2 separate regions of the Homo sapiens genome follow, and region 2 is linked to region 1. Evidence: promoter capture Hi-C in 16 types of primary human blood cells and fetal thymus (Javierre and others, 2016). All regions are on one chromosome and are shown on one strand. The core of a region is centred on a gene start or on the middle of the fragment in contact, and the rest is flanking DNA. Distances in the headings are between cores, read along the strand shown.

What was found. The method cuts DNA at HindIII sites, captures the fragments that hold promoters and counts their contacts. A CHiCAGO score of 5 or more calls a contact.
Region 2: a contact is called between the fragment with the promoter of INIP here and the fragment with the promoter of ECPAS in region 1, in 5 of 17 cell types (total CD8 T cells, naive CD4 T cells, naive CD8 T cells and 2 more). The highest score is 11.4, in total CD8 T cells.

What each region holds. Positions count from the first base shown.
Region 1 is chr9:111,481,891-111,487,918 of GRCh38, reverse strand. ECPAS (Ecm29 proteasome adaptor and scaffold) reads left to right here and starts at 3,536. Exons shown (of 50, transcript NM_001364929.1): 1 at 3,536-3,803. RefSeq lists silencers at 3,437-3,976, 4,097-4,216, 4,487-4,906. The HindIII fragment of the contact is 4,796 bases long and covers 575-5,370 here.
Region 2 is chr9:112,715,078-112,720,738 of GRCh38, reverse strand. INIP (INTS3 and NABP interacting protein) reads left to right here and starts at 2,622. Exons shown (of 5, transcript NM_021218.3): 1 at 2,622-2,752; 2 at 4,198-4,278. The coding sequence starts at 4,254. RefSeq lists a silencer at 2,411-2,570 and an enhancer at 2,941-3,040. The HindIII fragment of the contact is 2,113 bases long and covers 1,087-3,199 here.

The DNA of each region.
Region 1 (6,028 bases), core at 2,287-4,786:
TTTTTGATTTTTTGTAGGGACCATGTCTTGCTAGATTGCCCAGGCTGGTCTTGAATTCCTGGCCTCCAAGGATCCTCCTGCCTCACAGCCTTCCAAAGTCCTGGGATTACAGATGTGAGCCATTGTGCCTGGCCCAGCCTAGCTTAATAATTTGTATGCTTCTTTGTTTTTAGGTGTCTGTTAGCACTTGTCATCCATGTATCTGCCCAGAAGAAGAATGCTTTCAAATATTTTGCTTTAACGCTGGAAACAAGATTTTTAAAAATCTTGTTAGAACTGTATATGTGTTTGATGTGAAGACAGCCTACATGAGAGGAGAGGGGACAGGTTTTTAGTTCTTGGATTCTATGATATCCTATTTTGGTTTCTCAGTAGCCTCTTCTCTGGCTCCTGTTTTCCTCCTCACCCCAATTCCTTCTTGCCTCTGTTTTTGACAGCTGAAGTGAATTCTAGACAGGAACTATCTCAAGGCTGCTGTTATTCAAAACCTAAGTGTTTCATATGAACATGAAGCTATTTAGTGGGAAAAATGAACTACAAGTAGTTTGATGGAAGAAGCAAGTATAAAAAAGCTTAGAGCTTTACACAGTAGTGATCAGAAGTAGCACTGTAAGTTGCTATAAACTACTGTATGTAATGAGACTTTAAGATCTTTTTTTGCCTAACAATTCCACATCTACATCTAGAAATATGTGATTACATAAAGATATGTATAAGAATGTTTTACAGTAGTATTGTTTAGTAAAAAACTGTAAACAACCTAACAGCTCATCAATAGGGAAATGGTTAAATACATTTTGTTGGTACTTATCATGCAGCCATTTAAAAAAAAAATGAGGCCAGGCACAGTGGCTCACGCCTGTAATCCCAACACTTTGGGAGGCCAAGGCAGGTGGATCATTTGAGGTCAGGAGTTTGAGACCAGCCTGGCCAACATGGTGAAACTCCATCTCTACTAAAAATACAAAAATTAGCTGGGCGTGGTGGTACATGCCTGTAATCCCAGCTACTCAGGAGGGTGAGGCAGGAGAATCGCTTGAACCCGGGAGGCGGAGGTTGCAGTGAACTGAGATCGTGCCACTGCACTCCAGCCTGGGGGACAGAGCGAGACTCCCTCTCAAAAAAAAAAAAAAAAAAAAGAGGTAGTTCTGTACATACTGATCCTAGTGATTAAGCAAGCTGACTCTGAATCCACACTGCCCAGGTTCAAATCCCAGCTCCACCACTTACTTTCCAGTTTGTGGCACATTAGATGTGTTCCTCAACCATCCAGTGCCATAAAAATCCCTATTTCATAAGATTGTTGTGGGGGTTAGATGAATTCATCCAAGTAAAACACTAGAATGGTGTCTGGCATAATTATTATTCCATTAGCCATTATTATCATTACTGATATGAAAGGACACCTGTAATACATTATTTGGTGAAAAGATAACGTTACATAATATGGGAAGTAGAGTTCCATTTTTGTCAAAACTAACAAAAATCTGTGTACACACATTCATGTGATTTGTACACGCAGAGAACCTGGAATTTCTTCATAGGAGGAACTAAGGATTTGTTAACTAGTCTTGCCTGGAGGTTAAAATTGCCTAACGGCCAGGCATGGTGGCTCACACCTGTAATCCCAGCACTTTGGGAGGCCGAGGTGGGTGGATCACCTGAGGTCAGGAGTTGGAGACCAGCCTGGCCAACATGGAGAAACCCCGTCTTTACTGAAAACACAAAATTAGCCGGACGTGGTGACGCATGCCTATAATCCCAGCTACTCGGGAGGCTGAGGCAGGGGAATCGCTTGAACCCAGGAGGCGGAGGTTGCGGTGAGCCGAGATCGCGCCATTGCACTCCAGCCTGGGCAACAAGAGCGAAACTCCGTTTCAAAAAATAAAATAAAATAAATAAATAAATGAATAAAAATAAAATAAAATAACAAACCCATTGTTTTTTACTCAGATTCTGTATTTATCTGGGGTGGCTTTGGAAGGATCCATTTGAAATTATGGGAAGTCAAATTTCCCCAAACCAGTCTTTGGTGCAGCTACTTTCTATAGTCACGGAAACAGTAAGGAAAGGTTGAATGCACCAAACTGTTAATAGGGATTATTTATGGGCATGAGTGGGATGAGGGGGGATGGTGGGTATGCAGTTGGGAGAAGACCTGTATACACCTCTCTATTGTTTGTAAGTAGTTCATTGTGTATTTATTTTGGAGGCAACATCAAATAAAAGAGGAGCATACATGAAAAAAGGGGTTGGTTAACTTAGTGTAGTATGAAGTTACAAACAAAAAAGGGTGATGGTAGTGCAGTGTTTTGAATTAACATGGAACAATGTGTGTGAAGGAATAATTGATCCAGAACTTTATTGTAGAAACCTGTCCCCATCAAAGCCATACATGGGGCTGTATATATATGTCCAGAGAAAAGGTCTTCTGCACACTTAACTGTAACTGTTAGTCATAATTTCTCTGCAGAGTGGGATGGTGGGGCTAGGAGGAAGGACTTTCACTTTTAATTTTATGATACTCCAAATCATTTGCATTTTTTTTTTACAAAAATTATGTATAATTTTTCTTTTTTTTTTCTTTTTGAGACGGAGTCTCGCTCTGTCCCCCAGGCTGGAGTGCAGTGGTGCGATCTCGGCTCACTGCAAGCTCCGCCTCCCGGGTTCAAGCGATTCTCCTACCTCAGCCTCCCGAGTAGTTGGGATTACAGGCGCGCGCCTCCACGCCCAGCTAATTTTTGTATTTTTTAATTAGAGACAGGGTTTCACCATGTTGGCCAGGCTGGTCTCGAACTCCTGACCTCGTGATCCACCCGCCTAAGCCTCCGAAAGAGCTGGGATTACAGGCGTGAGCCACCGCGCCCGGCCCAAGATCATGTATAATTTCTATAACAAAAACAATAAAGGAAATAAAAATGTCTTCAGTGTTGTACCTTGTACTTGGCCTATGTTACAACAGGAATGACATATATTCCATTTTTAAGACATTACTTAGGGCTTTATAGATTTCTGCTTTAAGGAATAAATGCAATTTCAATCTATTTAAGACTTGATTTCTTCTTATATAAAAAAAGTATCTGATCTTGTATCTAATTTGTTATGACAGTACCATCACTTAAAGTACAGCAATTATGCAACCCCTGAATTTGAATTTCATTTTGCAAGTGTACATGACCTCACGGACAAAGCGAAGGCAGAAAGTTAAAATCAGCATATCGAAAATAAATCACTCTAGTTACCGAAAAGAACATAGGGTATCTGAACAAAATCTCAGAGCTCACATAGGCATAGATACTTCCATGTGAACTTTAGGAATCTTGCCTTATCTAACTTTTGCAGGGCTGAGTGGACCCCCTGCTCCCGCTAGCCGTTTTGGGAGCACCAGCCACCTCCACACCAGAACTGGGCTGTCGGGGGCCGCTGCGGCGCAGGGGCTCGTCCGGGACTGAGTCAGCGCCGGGGCCGAGAAGTTCGGCGGGAGGCGCAGGGCGGGGCTTCCTCCCGCCGACTCCGAGCCCGGCTCTACTTTTCTGAGTCCACGTCTCTTCCTTTGGACAGGCGTGTTTCCCCAGGTCGGGCCCAGCCAACGTGACAGCCGCAGACCTCGGAAAAGGGCGCTCCGGCCCCGCCTCGAGGATTTCCCCCGGCCGCTAGGGCAGCCCGGGCCCGCTCGGCCCAGCCCCTCACGGACTGCGGCGCGCGGCTCCCCGGGGCCCGGCCCGCCGAACGCCTCGCTCTACAGCCCTCACCTCGCGGCGCCGAGCGCAGCGTCCGCGGCATGGAGACCGGCTCCGACTCAGGTCAGAGGCCCGCCCCCGGGCCGCGGGGGACTGGCCCTGCGCGCGCGGCGGCGCGGTTAGGCCGGGCCGCCCGCACAGGCCGCCGCGTGTCGAGTCCGCGCGGGGAGCGCACGCGGGGCGGGCGGCGACAGGTGGGCAGGACGAGCCGCGAGCGAGCGAGGGCGGGCGGGCGCGCGAGGGGCCCGGCGGGGGGGCCGCTGGGAGGATGGCTCAGCTCTTTCTAAATATAAAACCGGCGTGAGTTGGGCGAGCGCGGCGCGGAGTCGCAGAGCCGCCGCGCGGGCCTGGCGCACGGGGATTCGGCCGCACAGACGGCGGCGGCGGCAGCGGCAGCGGCTCCGCAGAGGCGCGAGGCTGCGGGAGCGCCCGAGTCGCGAGCTCGCGGGGGCAGCGAAGGGCGACGCTCGCGACGCGGAGGACGCAGGCGGCGGCGGCGGGCGGGCCTCGGGGCACAGCGCGGTCCGCGCCGAGTGAACGGAGGCGGCTCGCGGCCCCTGCCGCACCGCGAGCCGCGAGCCCCCCGGCCGCGCCCTGCCCCCCCAGCCCCTCCCTCGTTCCCTCCCCGGCGCAACATGGCTGCGGCCGCCGCCTCCGCCTCCCAGGATGAGCTGAGTAAGTGCCGCGGCCGAACCTGCGGCCGCGAGCCGGAACGGGCGCCGCGCGGTGCCGGGGGCCGGCGGCCGCATGAGGGCTGGGGCGCCAGGCCCGGTGGGCGGGCGGCGGCCGCGGCGTACGGGGAGCTGGGGAGCCCGGGCCTGGCGGACGGGCGGGGCGCGGACCGTCGCCGCTGGCGTTTGTAGGCCTCAGGTTTGCACCGTCACGTTGCGAAATTGAAACCGGAGCCCCGGGCGGAGCCACCTCTGCCCGCGATCCGCCCTGGCCCGGGGTCGGGGGAGCCCAGCCCCCTGCCCACTGAGCCTCGGCTGGCGGGAGGGCCGGAGCCCCGGGGTGACGGGCAGTGTCCGCCCGTCCCGTCTGACCCCGCCTGGCCCCGGGTCCCCGACGGCTGGTTGAGTTATAGAAATGGAGCTTTCGGGAAGGGGGAGAAGGTGCCTTTTTGTGACACTCTAGTAATCAGCCGAAAGGTCACGAATAGGCGGTGACCCTCAGATGGAGCAGGGAGGGCGGAGAGGGTCGCCGGTCGAACCGCAGGAGAAACCACGGGGTGACAGCGCTTTCAGAAAGGAGAGTTAGTGCCCCCTCGATCGTACGCGGTGCAGCCTTCCCGGGGACGGCGGTCCCTGTCTGGGGAGAGCGGTGGTCACCCTGAATCCCAGGCCGCCCCGCCCGCCGCCGGGGTTCGCCTCAATGCTTTGTGGGAAGTGTAGTTCCGGGGCGCCGCGGACCCACGCTGGGGTCATAAATACCGAAGTTTCATAGGACATAGGACATGTGAGATAATTTCTGATTGCGTTTTGAGTGTTCTCCCCCCCAAGGGTTTTCTTTCTTTCCCTTTTTTTTTTTCTCCCAATGCTGCCCTTCAGTTTATGGCAAAAACAAGAAAGGTGTTATTTGAAGATGATGTGGGTTTTAAATGGAATAAAGCATGGGTGAGGTGTTGCAAGCTTTATGAAGCTTACGTTGTTAAAGCCGCTTCTGAATTTCCATATGAAAGTAGTTATACACGTAATGTATGTTTTTCTGGTGCTTGTCAGTTTAAAGCCACTTTTATATACATGATCTCACTTTTGCCCTCATAGCAACCTTGTGAGGCAGATAGGTAGGAATTATCCTTGTTTTAAAGAGGAGGCAGGTTTGGAGAGATTAAGTTCCTTGCTGCTTTGACACAGAACTGGTGGAGCAGGAGTACTGTTTGCTTTTTTTGAAGCTGAAGTAAACACTTGGTGTGATCCTGAGCAGATTGGAGAGTCGGAGGAGACAAGGTCTCATGGTGCGATTAGAGAGAGAAGCGGGCTACAGATTGCTCTTCTGTCGGTTCCACGTGGAAGCACCACCAGGCCTTCTGAGATCAGTTCCATGTTTTGTTTTAATTGGAAGAAAAGTACACATACCATAAAATTTCCCGTCCTAGCCATTTTTTAAGTGTACAGTTCAGTGGGATTGAGTACATTCACACTGTTGTGTAATCATCACCACCATCCATTTCCAGAACTCTTCGTCTTGTAAAACGGAAACTTGATACCCATTAAACAACAAATCCTCATTCCCTCCTCCCTTCGGCCCCTGGCGACCATCATTGTACTTTCTGTCCCTGTGATTTTGAG
Region 2 (5,661 bases), core at 1,373-3,872, 1.2 Mb before region 1:
ATTGTCTCAAACTGCTACACACTTGATTTTAAAGGTTGTCTAGCCTCATGCAGATCCCCAAATACTTTATCACAAAATACCAGAAAAGGAGGTTAGAGTGGTTTCAGTTGGAAATTAGGAACTACTGTCAACTCTACCTTGATACTGAAGGTCTGTAACCACAGTGGTTTCAGGATAAAGTAATTCACAGACAGCTATCAGTTAATAGAGCCAAGGGGCTATAACATGCACTCCTTCTGTCTTGGACTTTCCCCTAGTATATTTCTCAGCTGACGTTTTTTTTCTTTTTTTTTTTTCTTTTTCTTTTTTTTTTTTTTTTTTTTGGAGACAGGGTCTATTGCTCTGTTGCCCTGGCTGGACTGCAGTGGCGCAATCATAGCTCACTGTAGCCTTGACCTCCCGGGCTCAAGCAATCCTCCTACCTCAGCCTCCTAAGTAGCTGGGACCACAGGCACCCACCACCGTACCTGGCAAATTTTTTAGATTTTTTTCTAGAGATGAGGTCTCACTATATTGCCCAGGCTGGTCTCAAGCAATCCTCCTGCCTTGGCCTCCCAAAGTGCTGTGATTACAGGCATGAGCCACCACACCCAGGCTCAGCTGATCTACTGACCACTTGCCAAGACACCCAGTAAAACAGATTGTTCATTGTTTATATTCTAATAGTCAACATTTATTGAGTTCTTATTATGTGCCAGGTGCTATTCTAAGTGATTTACGTATACCCAATCACTTATTTTTATTCCCATTTTATAGATGACAAAACAGAGGCACCAAAAGGTTAAACCAGGGCTCACCATCATTAAGTGGCAAAGCTCGAATTTGCATTCAAGTAAACTGACTCACTATTAACCACTGTGTTAGAGGTTAACACAATGAGGCAGAAGTTCCAAAAACTCTAGGAGAAGACAGAAGGGTTTCAAGGGCTATGACCTACCAAGTAAAAGGCAAAAGAATTGGCAGCAAGTTAAATTTATCTTTCTCCTGATAATGTTCTTTCAACTCTCAGAGGCTGAATTTGCTAAGAAATTATAAAATGTTGTTTAGGGTTAGAACTGTTTTTACTCCCACCTCCTTAAATAAGCTTTGTTCAGAATGTCCATTTGAAACTTAGACTGGAACTTTCTGTGCCCTAGTTTCTATATTAGCTAGGCCACAAAACAAAAAAAAATTCTAAGGTTCTATCAGCCATATAGATCTCAGTCATCTTTTTAGTCATACTAGAACTCACCAAGTCCTCTTAACTGAAAGGACTCCTGGCCTACCATCAAAATGCTCATGTGTTAGGCTTTATATCTGGATTAAAGTCAAGTCAGCAAGAACTGGTCTCAGAGGAATTCATTCCTCCAGAGCAGAGGCAATGTGTGAGATTTAAGAACTCAGGCCTTAGCATCTGGCAGATCTTTAAATTTGAATCTTAGCTCGCTACTTGACATAGAGCAAGAAACATGAGTCTCAAATATAAATCAGGGAACAGCAGGACCAGAGCTGATGCACAGGAAGCACCTCGCATTGTAGAAGGCACTCAATAGCTGCTTGGTATAGAGTAAATACATGCTTGGTTTTCAGTAAATAAATACTTGATATTGAAACGATTATTTCAGTCATTGATCCATGCACAAGAAAATTGTGCATCATAAACATTTTACTCTTGAGCAAACATCAATTATTAAAAACATATGTTCAAATTCATTATCCATTCTATTTAATTAAATGCTTGAGGCGCTTGGGGAGCTTACATTTGTGATTTAAGTCTGTGCGTTTTTCAAATGTATCTTTCGGAAGAGATTAAGACACTGCAATTTTAAGCAGGGCAGGTGGCTCACGCCTGTAATCCCAGCACTTTGGGAGGCTGAGGTGGGCAGATCCCTTGAGGCCAGGAGTTCAAGACCAGCCTGGGCAACAAAGCGAGACACTGTCACCATAAAAAATATTTTTTTAAATTAAAAAGAGTGCAATTTGAACACATGTCAATATACGATTACCTTTTAATTCAAATGTGTAGCTATCTACTGTGCTGGAATCAGGTGGGCAGCAGGTGATCCCACTAGTGGCAACTTGGTGTTCTGCGATGTGGCACATCCACTTCTTAAATGCAGATTATTGCACTGTAATAAAAATCCTCCATATTCAGTGCTTTCATTGTGTATAATTATGTAAACTGTAGACAAAAAATATTCCTGAATTTGTGTGTGTGTGTGTGTGTGTGTGTGTGTGTGTGCGGATGCGCAATCCGAGATGGTTGTTAAAGCTCGAAAGCGAGTTTAGCTTCTAGAGTCGCCCCTCCTCCGAGGCCCAGCCGAGGTGGACTCGCACCGTCGCAAGACCGGCCAGGCGGTGGCAATGAATAAAAAGCCAGTCTTGGTGCTAGGGACCCAGGTGTTCTCCGTCCCGCCCCTGCCTGGCAGCCCCGCCCCTCCCCCGCCCCGGGCCACGCCCCACCCTGGCCCAGCCCCCAAAAGTACCGTTTGCATCTCCCGTGAGCCTCTTCGACTGTCACTCTTTGGAAAAAAAAGTGACGTCTGCACTGAGGTGGCCGCTAAAGTGCGAATCACGACGGGCGGTGGCCGTTGGGTCCCGGCGGGAGGCGGGGTTTCCGCTCCCTGGGGCGCACGTCAGTCAGGAGGCGGAAGCGCAGCGGGGGCGGGAAGGTTGTAGTGCCGCGAGTTGAGCTCCTCTTGCCTAAGTGGTCGCGCCCCCTTTAAGAGCAGCGATTGTAAGGAGAGGCGGTCCCGGTGTCCTCGGGTCCCAGGTAAGTACGACAGTCTGGAGGCACCGGGCAATAGAAAAGTGTGGCTCCGGTGCTAACCTGTCGCCGCCGTCTTTGTTGCTACAGGCAGCGACCTCCCTTCCGACCTTGCCACCTAACATTTCTGGCTCCTACTTGCTTCCTTCGTCTCGTTCACAGCCCGGGCCCAGCCGGCTCTGCACATCCGTAGGCAGGGACCTTTCTGGCACGCCAGTCTACCCTGTCACAAGATGGCCCTGTTGTCCTCCAGTCCTAACCCCGCATTGCTCGCTCTGTGTTTCAGCCGCTGGAGACACCTAACGATTCATTTACTAAAAACCGGTGTCTGTTTTCTATCCCTTGTGTCTTTCCCGGGCTCCCTAGACTAAGGCATCACTCTTTGCTGCCAATGAAATCAATTCTTTGCCTCCGGCACTGTGCCCACCTTTTAAAGAGCGGGTTTGTTAAGCTTTTTTTTTTTTTAATTAATAGTATGGTTGCTTGAATAAGACTTTATTTTCCCTTCTGAAAGCAGGATTAGGGTCTTGCTCATCTTGGATCTCCCCAGGATTTAGTACGAAAGCACGAAGTTTGGAAACCAGCAGCCCAAATAATTCCTACTAGCTCTATGACCCTGGGTACGGTTTCCTCATCTATAAAATGGTGATAAATAAATAAAGGAACTAATTTCGAGCATGTTACACAGTGTATGGTGCAGAGCAGATACAGTACTCCTTTACCTTTTTTAGCTTTCAGTGTACACAGTAGTTTTTGGGTATGTGTTTTAGACGAATGCAGAGACACCATAGATGAATGATTTTTCTTCCTAGCACCATGATTATATTGACTCTATCAATTGGTTGATATATTTGGTAAATACAACCTAATGACGTTTATTAAAGACAGTAATGCTAAATGGTATGAACATCTGCAAGAATAAACAATGCCGTATTTAATTAAATGCTTGAGGCACTAGCAGAGTTTACATTTGTTTCAGTCTGTGTACATTTCAAATGTATCTTTCTTTCTTTTCTTTTTTTTTTTTTTTGAGACCGAGTCTCGCTGTCTCGCTCTGTGGCCCAAACTGGAGTGCAGTGGCGCGATCTCGGCTCACTGCAACCTCCGCCACCCGGGTTCAAGTGATTCTCCCGTCTCGCCCTCCCGAGTAGCTGGGACTGCAGGCGCTTGCCACCACACCCGGCTGATTTTTTTTTTTAATTTTATTTTTAGTAGAGACTGGGTTTCACCATGTTAGCCAGGATGGTCTCGATCTGCTGACCTCGTGATCCGCCCGCCTCGGCCTCCCAAAGTGCTGGGATTACAGGCGTGAGCCACCGCGCCCGGCACAAATGTATCTTTCTGAAGAGATTAAGAAACAGCAAACATTTCATTGTAAGGAGGCTAGCTGTTCCTTTTAGTTTGTGATTAAAATATGGTGCATTGTATATGTGTGTACACATATTTTATAGGTGATTGTGAAGTGCTGACCAATTGCCACTGGACATACTTGAAACAAAATAGGAAAATGGCAGCAAACTCTTCAGGACAAGGTAATGACAGCAGGAATTTCTTTACTATGAACATTTCCCCAATATAGTAAATGTATTTGAATAAGAGAAAATTTAGCATAGGGCAGTTACTGTAGCCAGAATTTAAAAAATGAATAGCAGGCCGGGAGCGGTGGCTCACGCCTGTAATCCCAGTACTTTGGGAGGCCAAGTCGGGTGGACTGCTTGAGGTCAGGAACCCCGTCTCTACTAAAATACAAAAATTAGCTGGGCATGGTGGCGGGCACCTGTAATCCCAGCTACTAGGGAGGCTGAGGCAGGAGAATTTCTTGAACCCAGGAGGCGGAGGTTGCAGTGAGCCGAGATTGCACCACTGCACTGCAGCCTGGGCGACAGAGTGAGACTCCGTCTCAAAAAAAAGAAAAAGAAAAAAAGAAGAACATCAAAGTAAAACTCTAAATTTGAAATACACTTGTGCTGAATAATGATGTTTAGGTCAATGACAGACTGCTTATAGGATGGTGGTCCCATAAGATGGTAATGGAGCTGAAAAATTTCAATCGCCTAAGTGACATCTTGATAATCCTGACCCTGTGTAAGCCTAGGCTAATGTGTTTGTTTGTGTCTTCATTTTTAACAAGAAGTTTAAAAAGTAAAAAAAATTAAAAATTTTAAAAATAGAAAACTTTTAGAATAAAGATATAAATAAAATACTTTTTTTTTTTTTTTGAGATGGAATTTCGCTCTTGTTGCCCAGGCTGGAGTGCAATGGCATGATCTTGGCTCACTGCAACCTCTGCCTCCCAGGTTCAAGCAATCCTCCTGCCTCAACCTCCCGAGTAGCTGGGATTACAGGCACACGCCATCACGCTCAGCTAATTTTGTATTTTTAGTAGAGACTGGGTTTTTCCATGTTGGTCAGGCTGGTCTCAAACTCCTGACCTCAGGTGATCCGCCCGCCTTGGCCTCCCAAAGTGCTGGGATTACAGGCATGAGCCACTGTGCCTGGCCCAGTGTTTTGTGTTTTAAGCTAAGTGTTATTACAAAAGTCAAAAAGTTAAAAAAATTTAAAAGTTTATAAAGTAAAGTTACAGTAAGCTAAGGTTAATGTATTATTGAAGAAAGAAAAATTGAATAAATTTAGTGCAGCCTAAGTGTACAGTGTTTATAAGTATACAGTACTATATAGTAATGTCCTAGACTTTCACATTCACTCACAACTCACTCACTGACTCACCCAGAGCAGCTTCAGTCCTGAAAGCTCCATGCATCCATGCATGGTAAATGCCCTATACAGGTATACCATTTTTTGTCTTTTAAACCGTGTGTGTGTGTGTGTGTGTGTGTGTGTGTGTGTGTGTGTGTGTGTATGTATGTATGTATGTGTGTATTTTAAGATCTCAATTGGCTTTATTTGTGATTCTA